3 separate regions of the Homo sapiens genome follow, and all the other regions are linked to region 1. Evidence: promoter capture Hi-C in human tissues and cell types (Jung and others, 2019). All regions are on one chromosome and are shown on one strand. The core of a region is centred on a gene start or on the middle of the fragment in contact, and the rest is flanking DNA. Distances in the headings are between cores, read along the strand shown. Region 1 holds the start of EBF4 (EBF family member 4). Region 2 overlaps ZNF343 (zinc finger protein 343). Region 3 has its middle 6.6 kb from the start of TMC2.

What was found. Contacts are between HindIII fragments. The study calls those that stand out against the background at their distance.
Region 2: a contact is called between a fragment that was not itself captured here and the fragment with the promoter of EBF4 in region 1, in 2 of the 25 tissues and cell types used here (H1 embryonic stem cells and thymus).
Region 3: a contact is called between a fragment that was not itself captured here and the fragment with the promoter of EBF4 in region 1, in 1 of the 25 tissues and cell types used here (lymphoblastoid cells).

Annotation. Positions count from the first base shown.
Region 1 is chr20:2,690,524-2,695,413 of GRCh38, forward strand. It overlaps EBF4 (EBF family member 4), which reads left to right and starts at 2,257. Exons shown (of 17, transcript NM_001395167.1): 1 at 2,257-3,259. The coding sequence starts at 3,123. LOC105372507 (a long non-coding RNA gene) reads right to left here and starts at 2,097. Exons shown (of 3, transcript XR_937210.3): 1 at 1,543-2,097; 2 at 817-941. RefSeq lists an enhancer at 3,428-4,412. The HindIII fragment of the contact is 20,356 bases long and covers 1-4,890 here.
Region 2 is chr20:2,481,316-2,486,205 of GRCh38, forward strand. ZNF343 (zinc finger protein 343) reads right to left here. Exons shown (of 6, transcript NM_024325.6): 6 at 502-3,341. The coding sequence ends at 1,846. Among named protein-coding and RNA genes, the nearest start is that of SNRPB, 13 kb to the left of the region's middle. The HindIII fragment of the contact is 4,668 bases long and covers 502-4,890 here.
Region 3 is chr20:2,527,552-2,532,441 of GRCh38, forward strand. No RefSeq gene overlaps it. Among named protein-coding and RNA genes, the nearest start is that of TMC2, 6.6 kb to the right of the region's middle. The HindIII fragment of the contact is 5,133 bases long and covers 1-4,447 here.

The sequences.
Region 1 (4,890 bases), core at 1,007-3,506:
GTGAGGGGAGAACAGAAGAAGAGCGCCAGGCACAGCAGCTTGAGGTGCTCAGAGGGCAGAGGAGAAAGACAGTGTGCTCTGGTCATCAGGGCAGTTTCCCAGGTGTGTGTAAATATATATACACCAGATATATATATTTCCCAGGTGTGTGTAAATACATACACATGCATATATATATGTGTATATATATATATATATATATATCTGGTCACCAGGGTGGTTTCCCGTGTGTGTGGGGTTGGGGGGTGGGGTAGCCCACTGCTGCCAGGAGGTCCCAGGCCCTGAAGCCCAAGAGAGACCACGGAGTCTGAGAGCAGAAGCAGGAAGGCAGGGCTGGAAGGGAGCCAGCACACAAGGGCCCCAGGAGTGGCTTGCTGGGGGCCAGTCAGGCATCCTTGGCAGAGCGTTCCTGTGAACGGTCTCAGACACAGGAGGGGCAGAAATTGAAGAAGGAGGCGAGGAGGAGGGGACAGTTCTTTTAAGAATGGGGAGATCTGAGCAGAGAAAAGAACATATTGAGACACAAACAGGAGATCGGTGGGGTAATCTCAGGAAAGGCAGAAGACAGGACTAAGCAAAAAGGTTCCACATCCATCTCCACAGTGGAAGACCGAGAGAAGAGAACGGGTGAAAAGACAGAAACGAGGAGGAGCATACGCCGCTGATGGTGCCAGCAGGGTTCTGCCAAGATTCCCTGAGTCCTCTCCACTGGGTAAGAGGAAGGGTGTCTGCTGGAAATGAGAGAGCCAGAGGTGGGTCTGAATGTTGGGGAGAGGAGTGGAGCAAGTGTGGAACAGCTCTGGGGGGGCTTCTCACATGTAATGTGTGTACAGGTCTTGGTAAATTGCAGGTTCCGATTCAGCAGGTCCCGGCAGGGCCTAAGAGTCTGGATTCCTCACCAGCTCCCAGGTGATGTCAATGCTGCTGGTCCGGGGACCACACTGTGAGAAGCAAGATTTAGAGAGGCAGATCAGGAGATGGAGAAAGAGACTGGCTTAAGAATTGTCTTAAGGAGAAACCCATGTTTGATAATCCCACCTAGGGTAAAAGCTGAGACCTGAAGGAGTCCTGGTGGGAATGGCAGCCCCCTGTGGGTGATGGGGAGAGGCATAGAGAGAAGGGGTGGTAAAGAGACCAGGAAAGGAGGTGAGAGGGCCTCTGTGATGGCAGGAGAACCAGCAGTGCCCCCAGGACGCCTCATCTGGGCCAATGTGTGACAGAACGCTAACTCACACTTGGAGGCCCCCCAGAAGAGGATGGGAGTGAGTTGGAGCAGGAAGGTGTTATTGCAGGGGTGTCTGAGCGTGAACATGGCAGGCAGGGCAGGTGGCCCCCATGCTGTTCTGCAGGAAAGTGCTGGACTCAGTCTGGGCTTGCTCGAAGCCTGGCCAGGACAACGTGGGGAGAGGGGCAGAAATGTCTCTGCCCCACGGTCAAGGGCCAGACGACTTCTGTGCCAGGAACTAATAAAAAAAAAGGAATGGGATCTGAGACGGGACGCGGCTGGGGAGAAACAGGAGGTGAGCTGGGCTCTGAGCCTACCTGTCCAACTCGCAATCAGAAATCAGGAGGTTCCTGAAAGGCACAGATGGAAACTGAAAATGCTTTAGGCTTAGGTAACCCAGCATCAGGAATCGGGATGGTTGGATGCAGGGACCTCGCCCAGCTTGTCTGGGGCCGCAGCCTACGGCAGGGACGTTTCAGTCCTTAGCTGGGGTGAAAGTGAGGTCAGGGTCGCCGGGGAAATGCGGGAGTACAGTCACGCGGGAGAAAGACGTCAAGAGCGAAAGCTCGGAGGCGTCAAAATGAGCAGCAAGTCCAGGCACAAGGCGTCGGGCGCGGAGAGTACGGCGGGTGCCGGGGGAGGGAGATGAGGCCGCGAAGACGCCGGGGCTTCGTCCGGCGGCGACGGGGAGGCCGCGGAGGTTCCCGAGCGCAGCGGGGCGCGCACCTCCCGCTCGGGCCGGGCTCCCTCGCCGCGCGGCCCCGGATCCTCCCTGCGCGGGTTTCCGTGGCCCCCGCCGGGCTCTTCCGTTCCCTCCCGCGGCCTCGACCAGGCCGCAGCCCCCAGCCCAGGCGACCGACTCGCCAGGGTCCGCCCCGCCGCCGCGGCCCGGGCCCGGCCGCTCCTCCCCCGATGATGTCACGTCCCCGGCCGCCCCTCGGCCGGCCGCGCCGCCCCGCCCCCGCCTCCCCCGGGCCCCCGTCCCCTGGGCCCGCCCGCTCCCGACATCCCTCCTCCCGCCTGCGCTCCCTCCCTTCGGCTACCGCTCCCCCGGGAGCGGCGGCGGCGGCGGCGGCGGCGGCGGGATGGCCCGGGCCCGAGGCCAGGCCCCGGGGAGCGGCGGGCGGCGGCGGCCGCGGCGGGGCGGCGCGGGAACCGGGCCCCGGGGGGAGTCGGCCGGGCTGCTGCTGCTGCTGCTCCAGGTGCTGCCGCCCGGGGCTACGGCAGGGCCGGGACGCCGGGGCACGCGGGGCGCTGGCGCTGGCGGCGGCGGCGTCTGCTGGCCCGGCGCGGCCCCAGCCTTTCCCCGGGACGCGCGGCTGCTGCTGCTCCTGCCGCCGCTGCCGCCACTGTCGCCGCCGCCGCCGAGCTCCGCGCCCGCAGCCTCCGCCTCCCGGATGGTAATCAGCGCCCCGCGCTGGCGCCGCGGGCGGGCGGGCGGGCGGGAGGTGGGGGCGGCGAGGGGGAAAGGGCGGGCGGCCCCGCGCCCCCGCCTTGCCCGAGGCAGCTCCCGGGGCGCTCGGGCCCCCCCTCCGACGACCGCGGCCCCGGGCAGCCGCCAGAGCGCGCCTCTGGGGCGCCTCCGCGCGGACCGGGTGCGGGCTCCGCTCCCCGCCCTCCCCGCCCCGCTCGCAGTCCGCCCGCCAGCGCTCAGGCCGCGGGGGAATCCCTCCATCTCCCCGCCCAGCGCCCCAGGAGGGGAGGGGACAGCGCCGGCGCCCGCGGACCCGCTTTCTCCGAGGGAGCGCCCAAGAGGCGAGCGCGCACTGAGCCACCCGGACTCGGCGCTGCGCTGCTGGAGGCGCCTGGTGCCGTCGGGTCGGGCTGAGCTAGACGCCCGCAGCCTCAGCGGGACCGGATCCGGGGCGGCGGGGGCGCTCACTCACCGCGCGCCCTCATGTTCCCTGCGCAGGACGCTCTGCCCCGCAGCGGGCTGAACCTGAAGGAGGAGCCGCTGCTGCCCGCCGGCCTGGGCTCAGTGCGCTCCTGGATGCAGGGCGCGGGCATCCTGGACGCCAGCACCGCGGCGCAGAGGTAAGCGCTCGGACCGGACCCGGTGCGCTCGGGTTGGACGGCTGCGCGCCGCCTCAGCTCAGCTTGCTGGAGCTGCTGGAGCCAGGGGCGGAAGGAGCCCTAACTCTGGACGGTCCCGGCGAGCTCCCCGGCCCACCCCGTCCGGAGTGCCTGTGCTGCCTCCTGAGGCTGTGGGGCGGGCTGGGGCGGGGCTTCTGCCTCCACTCCGGGCTGCCCCGGTAGATTTCTGACGGCCGCTCGCGGGTGCGGCGGTGAACGCCACCCCAGCCGGGCTGTCTATGGCTCTGAGAGAAGAGGCAGAGCTCCCAGCCATGACCCACAGCCACCGGCCGTCTAGGAACGTCCAGCCCCTCCTTCCTGGGCAGTCCCAGTGACTCTCCTTGTCCAATTCCGCAGCTCTCTGTCAGGAAAGGCACGAAACCCAGCCCCCTTTTTCCTTTCCCACGCCCCTCAGAGTTGGCGGATGGGGGTGTGCAGAGCCAGAGAAGCGGCTGGGGGCTGGACGGTGGCGAAGAGATGAGGTGGGCAGTCGGCCTGGCTGGACTGATTGGCCTGGGAACTGGGCAGGGCCCCTGCCTTTCCCTCGGGTGTTTTTCTGGTAGGTCCTTTGGAAGGCAGAGAGTCCCTGGGAACCCAGCACCCGCGCCGGTCTCCTCTGACTCCTTTGCAGGGGTCTGGGAGTCTCAGTAGGGGGTTGACTCCAGGATTTGAAAGCGAACTTTAAAAGTTTATTGACCTGCCCCCAAAGCCCCTGCACCCCCTGGCTTTTTGCACCTTCAGCTGTGACCATGGAGGGAGGCATTTAGGTATCCTATGGGGAGTCACAGTGGTTAGGATTAGGGAGGTGCCAGCTCTGCTGACAGCTGGGACAGGGTGGGCACTTGGCTTCCCAGAAGTCTGAGCTGTTGCAGCAGCCCGAAGGGATTCTGAATGGGGGGCTTAATGCAGACCGGGCCTGACACAGGAGCCCACATTCACACTCCGCAGGACGCCTCAACCTCACCGTGTAACAGACACACACCGCGCTTCATGTGCAAACTGAAGCCGTTTCTGCACGCCGGTCCTTTCCTGGCTGTCGGGAGGGAACGCTGGGGGGCTCTGGAGCTGATCTCTTACGGAAGAGAAAGGGTCTTGTGGATGAATTAATTTCCAAAACTTTTACAAGGGATATAGCTATATTCTAGAAAAATTGGAAAATAAAAAATTTAGTCCCTCCTCTGTAATACAACTACTGTCAACATTTTAGTGTATTTCCTTCCTATTTTTCTTCCCATTAACTTGTGTTTTCCTGTGCTATGCTTACAATTCCACCTCCTGCCTATTCTTCTGTTGGTTCTGGCTTTTTTTTTTTTCAACTTGAGAAGGTTAGTTTCTTAACATGGCCCCCTCTTTGGCCCCACCACCTGCTGTGTGGCGAGAGCTCTTTGTAAGAGTGGGTGAGGAGTGCTGATGGGGGCCTCTGGGAGTTAAGGTTCCATTTCTCTGCAACCTTTCCCTCTGTGCCTACCCAGAGGCAGGTCTGATGAAGGGGAAGCAGACGTGAAGGAGGCAGTGCCCTTGGAGACTGCGTGGGGTTCAAGAAGTGTGGGGATAAGGCTTCCCCCAGAGCATGGGCCACAGCAGTGGTGTCT
Region 2 (4,890 bases), core at 1,586-4,085, 210 kb before region 1:
TGGAACTGGAGGACATGAGCAGATCATTAAGGACTGCAAAAATTCAGTGGAATAGAGAAGTATTCAGCAAAGACACCTGCAGAAAGAAAGAAAAAGAGAGAAGGCAAGATGGGGAGAGAAAGAGAAACACACAAAGAGAGAGAGAGAATACCTAGGGAAGGAAGCTTTCACAGAAGCTGAAGAAAGTGATCAGTCTGGAGAAGAGGCAGCCCAGCCCTGGAGACCTGGAAAATCCCCTCCCTGCAACTGGCCTGTCTCTAGAACCTAATCACTCCTCCACATGAAAAGGATCAAATTCTCCAAAAAAATCTATTAGATTGATTCTCAAGGGTTGAATTTATGCAGGAAACCCTGACTGTGAATTTGAATTCCTTGCACCCTTTCAGTCAGATGAGTGGCCAAGCTACACAGCCTGAACTTATTGAAGAAATTTTGAACTAAAACAAAGGGATAAGAAAACACGGGAAAGAACTGGTATATGAAAATAAAACAAGTTGATCATTTTTTGATTACTTAAATAAAGCCTGCTTTTTTATTTCATCTGATTCCAAGAAGTAGAAAAGAATGCTTATTTAACAGTTACTGCCATCTTCGCTCACATACAGAGTACATGGGGGAGTCAAGACATTTCCTGAAAATCCCTCAGAGGTGAGTGAGGTAGTGACTTGGGGTAGCAAGACTGTCCTCCTAAGTCAGTTGAGGAGTGACATCGGGATGAAGCTCCACCCACAAGCCCTGCCCACAGAGGTCTTCTCCCTGAGTGTGTCCTCCTTTAGTACAAGATGAGGTTTAACTTATTGCTAATGTGTTTCACATTTTCCCTCCCCACCCATGTAAAGCTTGTCCCAAAAAAGCTGTTCTTTGATGAGGACTTTTTCCTAAGTCCTTGTCCATTCTCCCCACACATGCAGAATTTCTATTCAATATACTCTGGGGCTTACTGCGGGGTGACTCATGGCTGAAGCCTTATCTACACTCCTTATATACCTAACATGTCTTAGAATCAATTATCTGGACAGACAACGAGACAGAAAATTGAGGATTCACTGGGGAGTGAGGGCAGGACTGGGCAGAGGAAGAAGCTGACCTGCAATGTGTCTGCAACCCAGTGATCCTTCAGTTCGATGGGGATCTCTGGATCTGGAATGACCTTCTGGAGTTGTCCCCGTTGAGTCAAGGGTTGGGGCCAGAAGGTACCCCTGCAAAGGTGCATTGCCCCTGTGGTGCATGCAGCTCCCTGTGGCTGAGAGTGAGTTCCAGAGCGGAGTGCATCTCTGGAATGCATCTCTGCCAGCAGCAACACTGTTCTCTCAAGCAGCTGGGGTGTTACCCCTGAAAAGGTCATCTGGGCAGAGCTCCACAGTGTCCCCACATGCAGATTCTCCCTGTGGTGTGTGATCACAAAAGCTTTGCCCATACATCCTACAAACAAAGACCTCCTTCCTGAGGGCCACTCTGTGCCTGAGTGTCCATTCTTTTACTGATGCTCCCCAACACTCCCCAGACAAGGGTGCTTTCCCCTGAGGCTGTCATTGGATGTCTGGTAAATGTTGATTATTGCTAAAGCCTTCCCACAGTCCCTACACATAAACTTCTCTCCTAAGTGTGTCCTTTTGTGCATGCTCAAGGCTGACTGATGGCTACAGTTGCCCGTACTCTATACTCATAAGGCTCCTCTCCTGAACGTGTCCCTCCCATGCCTGATAAGGGCTGACACATCTCTGGAACTTCACTCACAATCTGTGTACACAGGGTCTACTCCCCATGTGTCTCTCTGGGGTAACATGAGGCTTGACTGGTCACTCAGGTCTTGTTCATGACCCCTGCATACACAGGTTTCTCCCGTCAGTGTGTCCTCTGGTGTCTGATGAGATTTGACTTATGACTAAAGCCTCGCCCACACTCCCTACAAACATAATGCTTCTCCCCTGAGTGTGTCCTCTGGTGGACAAGGAGGAGTGATTTCCGGCTAAAGCCTCGGCCACACTCACTGCACACGTAAGGCTTCTCTCCTGAGTGTGTCCTCTCATGTACAATGAGGGTTGACTTGTCACAAAAGCCTCGCCCACATTCCCTGCAAATATAAGGCTTCTCATTTGAGTGCGTCCTCTGGTGTCTGATGAGATTTGACTTCTGGCTAAAACCTCGCCTACACTCCCTGCAGACATAATGCTTCTCCCCTGAGTGTGTCCTCTGGTGGACAAGGAGGAGTGATTTCCGACTAAAGCCTCGGCCACACTCACCACACACATAAGGCTTCTCTCCAGAGTGCGTCCGCTCGTGTATGATGAGGGTTGACTTGTCACAAAAGCCTCGCCCACACTCCCTGCAAACATAAGGCTTCTCATCCAAGTGTGTCCTCTGGTGTTTGATGAGATCTGAGTTCTGGCTAAAGCCTCGCCCACACTCCCTGCAAACATAAGGCTTCTCCCCTGAGTGTATCCTCTGGTGTTTTCTGAGGGTTGACTTATCACAAAAGCTTCGTCCACACTCCAGGCACACATAGGGTTTCTCACCGGAGTGTGTCCTCTGGTGTCTGATGAAGGATGACTTCTCGCTAAAGCCTCGCCCACACTCGCTGCAAACATAGGGCTTCTCCTCTGAGTGAGTCCACTGATGTCTATTGAGGATGGACTTACTTCTAAAGCTTTGCCCACACTCCCTGCACAAATAAGGCTTCTCTTCTGAATGTGTTCTCTGGTGTCTGCTGAGGTTGGACTTCTGGCTAAAACCTCGCCCGCACTCACTGCACACATAAGGCTTCTCCATCGAGTGTATACGATGGTGTCTGATGAGGGTTGATCTATCTTTAAAGCTTCGCCCACAATCACTGCAAATGTAGGGCTTCTTCCCTAAGAGGGTCCTCGGGTTTGTAATAAAGTTTGATTCCAGGTTATGGTCCGGTTCATACTCTCTACAGTTGATTGCTCCAAATCTCAAGGTTTCTAATTCCTTCAAGCCTTTGTCTAGCTGCACAGGGTTTGGTCTTTGGGCTGAGCTGGGCTCTGTTTCTACCACCATGTTGCCTTTTCTAGGACTTGCTGACTGTCTTTGGAGTGGGCTGGGGAATGCCCTTGAGGTTTCTCTCTCCTCTGTCCTTGCAGACCAGGGTTTGGAGCCACCTCCTCTCTCCTGACCTTCTGCATTTTCAAACCAACAGCTTACATGGGAATACTGCTGCCCCTGCTGTTTCCAATGCCCTGGGCTAGAATTCCCTGGATGGAAGTGATTTTCTGCACATAAGCCCAGGAAGATCTGAAGTACATGTTGACTGAGGAACTGCTGACAGGAGAAGGCCAGAAGGCAGGAGGAACAAGTGTAGATTTCTGGCTTTGGTTCTGCTGAAGAATGAAAGTTTTCTGTTAGAGTAGCCATAAGTAGGGCTGCTGAGTTGTTCTGCCTTGTCTTAGGACAGAGAATGTTTTACTGCCATGCCTATAATTGATAATATAAGTATAACACAATTTGCTTCTGAACAATGATTCCTTTACATTCCATCACATTTTCTATTGCAATCCAGAAAATCCATAACAAAAATATCTTGAGAAACCAGGAACCTCTCAAGTGAGTATTCTGCTCTGTAAACAGCTTCAATCATAGTTAGCCTTCTCCTAAGCCATAGACATTCACATTGGTATATACTGTCCACAGCTCTTTGTTCTGCTTGGAGATAGTGGTCTCTATGACACATGTGGAAATCTCCTTCATGACTTTTCTTATTATATAAAAAAGGGTCTGATAGACATAAAAAGTCCCTCATTCTGGAGGGCTTCCGAATGTAGGAGAAAGTGTATGGAATACTGGTTAAAGAAATTATTGTATATAAAACAAATATAAATTTCAGGCTGCCCACCTGTAAACAAAGACTTATTAGAAAATGCCAAAGTACTAGGTTCTCTACTAAGTATTATGAATTCAGTAATGAACAAGAAAGACATGGTCCATGATTTTAGGATTCTGGCACCAAGCCAAAACAACAAAATCTGCCTTTCTTTCCACTTTTCATAAATCAGTAAAAAGAAAAACTTTTCATTTACAGCAGCACCTGCCTACAAAATATCAAAACTAGATGTTGCATTTCATCACAACATGATCTATCCAACTGATGCTGAGAAATGACCACGTACTTGGCCCCAGACCCTACTGGGCCTAACTGAAGACTTCTGCCTAACTAATGAACACTGGAATCTTTATAATCAACTGTATCTGTCCTTAAAAACTCATCCTATCCTATCTGGAATGCTAGTTTTCAAACCTTAATTAGCATAACCATCATGAAACTGCTCCCTAACAGTAAAACCTTTTATTTTTCCCCCTTGCCAAACTATACAGTGAATTTCTTCACTGCTGTGTCTCCTTTCCTGTTAAGTAAATGATTTGTGCCATTTGATTTTTTGACCTTTTGTGGTCTTTGTTTTAGTTTTTGACAATGTGTTTTCCCTTTGGTTGCTCTGACAAGGCACCGACCAGTGCTGGAACTGCTGGACTGCCAGAGGAACACAGCTGTGTGTAGACTGAGCCGTATGTGCTCAAAGCTGCTTGTCTGGCAGCCTTGCCATGGGTGAGGCTCTCAGCAGCTGTCAGGCTCTGCTTGCTGTCACTGAGCACTCCCTGAGTCTGTTTGGTTTACTTGGGTTCTCAAAGTAACTCATTATTTGTTTCTATTTCTGACCCGTCATCTCTTATAAGACTTGTGGTCATTCTGGTACTTTGTGACGTGAACTTTTTGCCTTGATATTTTGACTGTGATTCGCTGCCATCTTTTTGGATTATCTAGAAGCATACCAAGTCATTCAGACTGCAGTCTGAATATATATACGGCAGTGATGTAACACCCTACATCACTGAGAAGCATTTCAGTAGGAGAAGAAATCTCATTTGTGTCTATTT
Region 3 (4,890 bases), core at 631-3,130, 160 kb before region 1:
GCCAAGGTCAAAGCTCACTGAGCAGTGGTCCAACCACAGGACTGCTGGTTCCCAAGCAATCTTAAAAAAGGGGGACTCGCCGGCTCAGTGGAGGTCTTCTCCACTCCAAACTGTATGCATGAATACGCTGACATTCTAGGATATCAGATGAGCTGAATCTTGCTAGGGGGAGTGAGCTCTAGAAACAAATAGTATGTAGAATTCAAAACGTCCAAGGAGAGGGGTTCAGGAGGTATTTCCTATGGCAAAAGTGGCTGAGAAACTTAAAGCAATTAAGTTGTCTCTGCTGGGGACTTTGCTCTCCTGGGCTCTGCTACCACAACACCAGGTTATCTCCAAAGGGTTGGTGATGAGCGATCGCACATCATAGCCTGGCTTAGTGCTGCTCTGTGGAATAGAAAGGAAGCCCTAGAGCCCAGTACAATAGAGAGAATACAGAAGAGGCTGGAGATGGGGCAGCTGACAAGGCGAGGGCCACATCTCTACCACCATGTGGCCATACCTTCGTGAGGCAGTGAAGTAAGGAACTTTGCAGCAGGTGCATTATGGAGCAGAAGAAAGGGGCAGGCTCATTCGTGCCTGGCAAAAGTGGGGCCCAGACGCACTGCAGGCCTAGGCACTGAGGCTGGGAGTAAAGTGATATGAGCAGGAATCCCACAGAGCGCTCTCCTAACTCTTCAGGGCTTTGGGGTGTTCTGGTTATGGTCATATTATCTCACTCAGTCCCCAAAGGGCTCTTGCAGGAGTTGTAGCAGAATTACCTCCACCCAGCAGATGAAAAAACGGAGGCAGAGAAAGCTTCAATAACTTGCTTATGGTAGTGTGGGGTGAAGAGGGGCTTGTCACCCATCTGATTTCAGCTGACACCTAAAAATGGGGTGTCCGATTTCAGCCGACATCTGAAAATGGGGGTTGACTTTGTTTAACACTTTTGCTTTGAGGAGCATTCCAGTTGTCCTTATCCCGTATGGGCAGAAGGAACAGAGCCCCTGAATCTAGGCTCCCTACTTTCTTTCCCTGACTCTGCCTCCTGGGGTGGTGGGGGAGAAGCAGACGAATAAAAAAACTATGACCCATAGTCACCAGCTGGCTGCAGTTCTCCTTGTGGGTTGTGTAGACCGTGCCTCTTAGTCTGTCTGGCTTATATCTGGCAGTAATCCTCCCCTGCCTTTGGAGTAATGGGGGGCCCTCAGGTCCCAGATACCTGGATGGGTCCAACTTCCTGCCTAAGAGTCTGAGATGGCAGAGACAACCTCAGCAGTTTCTCGAAAACAGGACCCTTCTGCCCCACCTTCAGTGCTGATCAAGAAAGGTCAAGGAACCAAGACTCTGACCAAACAAACTTAGAAGCACTGTTCATATTACACAACCCAAAGCTTTCAGGGACACACCGCTACCGTCCAGAATCCTATGGCCTCTCTCCCACCCTGTGCCACAAACTACCCCAGCACTGAGCTCATTGGTGTGGGTTCGTCGGTGGAGGGCAGCATCCTTGAGATAGCGCCAGCTCACGTTATCCAGCTAGGGTGTTAGCTGGCGTAACTGGATCCTCTCCATTGTGCCGGTTTACAACATTCTGTGAGCAACACTGGATGTTTTGTAAGCAGATACCCACAGCTAATTATATATATATATGTATATACTTCTAATTGGAGAGATAAATTAACAAGATGGCCCAAGAAGCTTCCCCAAATAAGGGCTTTGGGGACAAAAGCACCCCTGGATTTGAACGCCCTGTGACTTTTGGTGGAGACTGCACATGTTATTTTTGTTGTTGTCGTATTGGGTCCTGGGGTTTCATTTTCTCTGAGCAAGCCACATCCATGAAAGAGAATTAGCACAGAGTTCACCCTCCTCAGCTCCAGCAATAGGGACATTCACTATCCTGATAACATTAGGGCACAACACTCTGATATTATTAATTTTCAGAATAATGTTTGAGTTGCATGTCCAATAAATGTTACTCAAATAGTATTAGCTAAAGTATTGTGTTAAGAAGAATAAAGAAAAAGAAAAGGAATATTTCACAAAAAGTTAAAAACACATTTTTGTGTCACTTTTTTTTTTTCTTAAAAGTTGCAAATGTGTGAAATCAAGAGGTTTCCAGTTACGGACATGTCAAGACCACCATGAAGAAAAGGCAAATCTTGATGAGGCAAAAACCAAGGGCAGAGCAGAGAGGGAGTCTTCCCAGAGGCTGGAGTGCTCTGCTCAGACACCACACCCCACCTGGCAGTTTGCTAGGGTTATCGCTCTGCTAGGAAACATCATTCCAAGTCATATTGTAAAATGCTGGGTGGGCAGTGTGCCCAGGGGTCTGCCACATGTCCTGAAGTCAGCAGTCTTCATAGTTGTGCCTCAGGCAGGGGGGATAGTGGGAGCAAAGACAAAGAGAAGTTCTAGTACCTCGAATGAGAGCAAGTCACATCAGTGGGTAGGAATAGCTGCACTGAAAGAGAGAGGCAGAGGGGGCTGGAGGGTGTTGGAGCTCTCCGGGGCCTTGGATGGCACATTAGAGAGTCTGGGTTTTACCCCTAGGCCATGGAGTCCCAGCGAAGGGTTTTAAGTAGAGGGGAGATGAAGTCAGACCTCTGCTCTGGGGGCTGCCTTAGCTGCCATGCAAGAGAGAAACTGAAGGGCAGGGCCAGCAGCCCGGTGCCCAGGTAGGAGGCAAACACGGGGACCTTTGGAAAGGAGGATATGGTGTGGTCCAGGTTTTTCCCAAGAGGTCAGAAGAGTGTAGGGAATAAAAGCCTGGGCTCTGGAGTAAGAACAGTCAACAGGGCTGAATCCTGTCTCCAGGGACTGCTGGGACACATCACATCTAAGCCTCCATTTTTTCATCTGTAAAGAAAGATAAGACAATCTGCCTCAAATGGCTGTTGTGATGATTCAATAAGTCATTTAAAGGGGTTGGCAAGTTCCTGGCAGAAAGGCAGTGACAGGTAACTCTCAGCTGTGGCTGTCTTGAAGGGTGGGCTTCCTGAGTGTGCAGCCTGCGCGTGGCTGCTCATGGCTCCACACTCAGAAGCGCCCTGCACTTGGTCTAATACTGTGCTGAAAAAGTGAAAGTGAAATTCTTTTTTTTTTTTTGAGACGGAGTTTCGCTCTGTCGCCCAGGCTGGAGTGCAATGGCGTGATCTTGGCTTACTGCAACCTCCATCTCCCGGGTTCAAGGGATTCTCCTGCCTCAGCCTCCCGAGTAGCTAGGATTACAGGCACATCCACCCGGCTAATTTTTGTATTTTTAGTAGAGATGGGGTTTCACCATCTTGGCCAGGCTGGTCTCGAACTCTTGACCTTTAGTGATCCACCTGCCTCGGCCTCCCAAAGTGCTGGGATGAGAGGCGTGAGCCACCGCGTCCAGCCTATAGTGAAATTCTTAAGAATTTTATCTTTTGGGCTGGACATGGTGGTTCACGCCTGTCATCCCAACACTTTGGGAGGCTGAGGCAGGAGTACTGCATAAGCTAAAGAGTTCACGATCAGCCTGGGCAACACGGTGAGACCCATCTCTAAAAAAAAAAAGTTAATTGGGCCAGGTGTGGTGGCTCACGCCTGTAATCACATCACTTTGGGAAGCCGACGTGGGCAGATCATTAGAGGCCAGGAGTTCGAGACTAGCCTGGCCAACATGGTGAAACCCCATCTCTACTAAAAATACAAAAATTAGCCAGGCATGGTGGCACACGCCTGTAATCCCAGCTACCTGGGAGGCTGAGGCAAGAGAATTGCTTGAACCCGGGAGGCAGAAGTTGCAGTGAGCCGAGATCATGCCACTGAATTCCAGCCTGGGTGACAGAGTGAGACTCTATCTCAAAAATAAAAAATAATTTTAAAAAATTAAAAATTAAGGCTGGGCTTAGTGGCTCACACCTGTAATCCTATCACTTTGGGAGGCCAAGGTGGATGGATCACTTGAGGTCAGGAGTTTGAGACCAGCCTGATCAACATGGTGAAACCCCATCTCTATTAAAAATACAAAATTAGCCAGGCATGGTGGCACACTCCTGTAATCCTAGCTACTTAGGAGGCTGAGGCAAGAGAATCACTTGAACCTGGGAGGCAGAGGTTGCAGTGAGCCAGGATCACGCCACTGCACTCCAGTCTGGGTGACAGAGCAAAACTCTGTTTCAAAAACAACAACAAAAAAAAAAAATTAGCTGGGCATAGTGGTGCTTTTTTCCGGCCCCAGCTACTTGGGAGGCTGAAGCAGGAGGATGATTTGAGTCCAGGATGTTGAGGCTGCTGTGAACCATGTTCATGCCATTGCATTATAGCCTGAGCCTGTGAAGAAGAAGAAGGAAGAAGGAAGAAGGAGAAGGAGGAGGAGGAGAGAAGGAGAAGGAGGAGGGGGGGAAGTCTGATGGGACAATGGGGTGCGTACATGAGCAGAGGAGATAGGAACATATGCCGCCCTATTTGCGTATCCCATATATGATGCCCCATGAGCACATAATTCCAGTGGGCCCACGACGCATGGGAGTTTAGCAAGACTCAAAGCCAGTACAAGGCAGGGGTGTAATATCTGTGGTTAAATATGTAGGAATGCTTCCAGCCCAGAGGGGCTACACTTCCCATTTAATCCAGAACTTGCTTCAAACACTAAAAGAAGGCAGTGGTGTTCTAAGAAGCATGACAACTAAGGGACCCTATCCTATTCTTTTTCATTCAAGTTACTTCCCTGGATTAGCCAACCACGTAGGCTGACAATAATGACCCAGAAGAAAAGGAAAAGATAGAGAAACCCATAATTCCTTTTTTTTCCCAGTTCTTTTTCACTCATCAGTAAGCCAAAGGCAGGAAACATTGGTAGAATATGCACATACCAAGACGTGAAGTAAAACCATTGAGTTGGCTTTGTGCAGCATTTCTACAGTCCTGATAAGC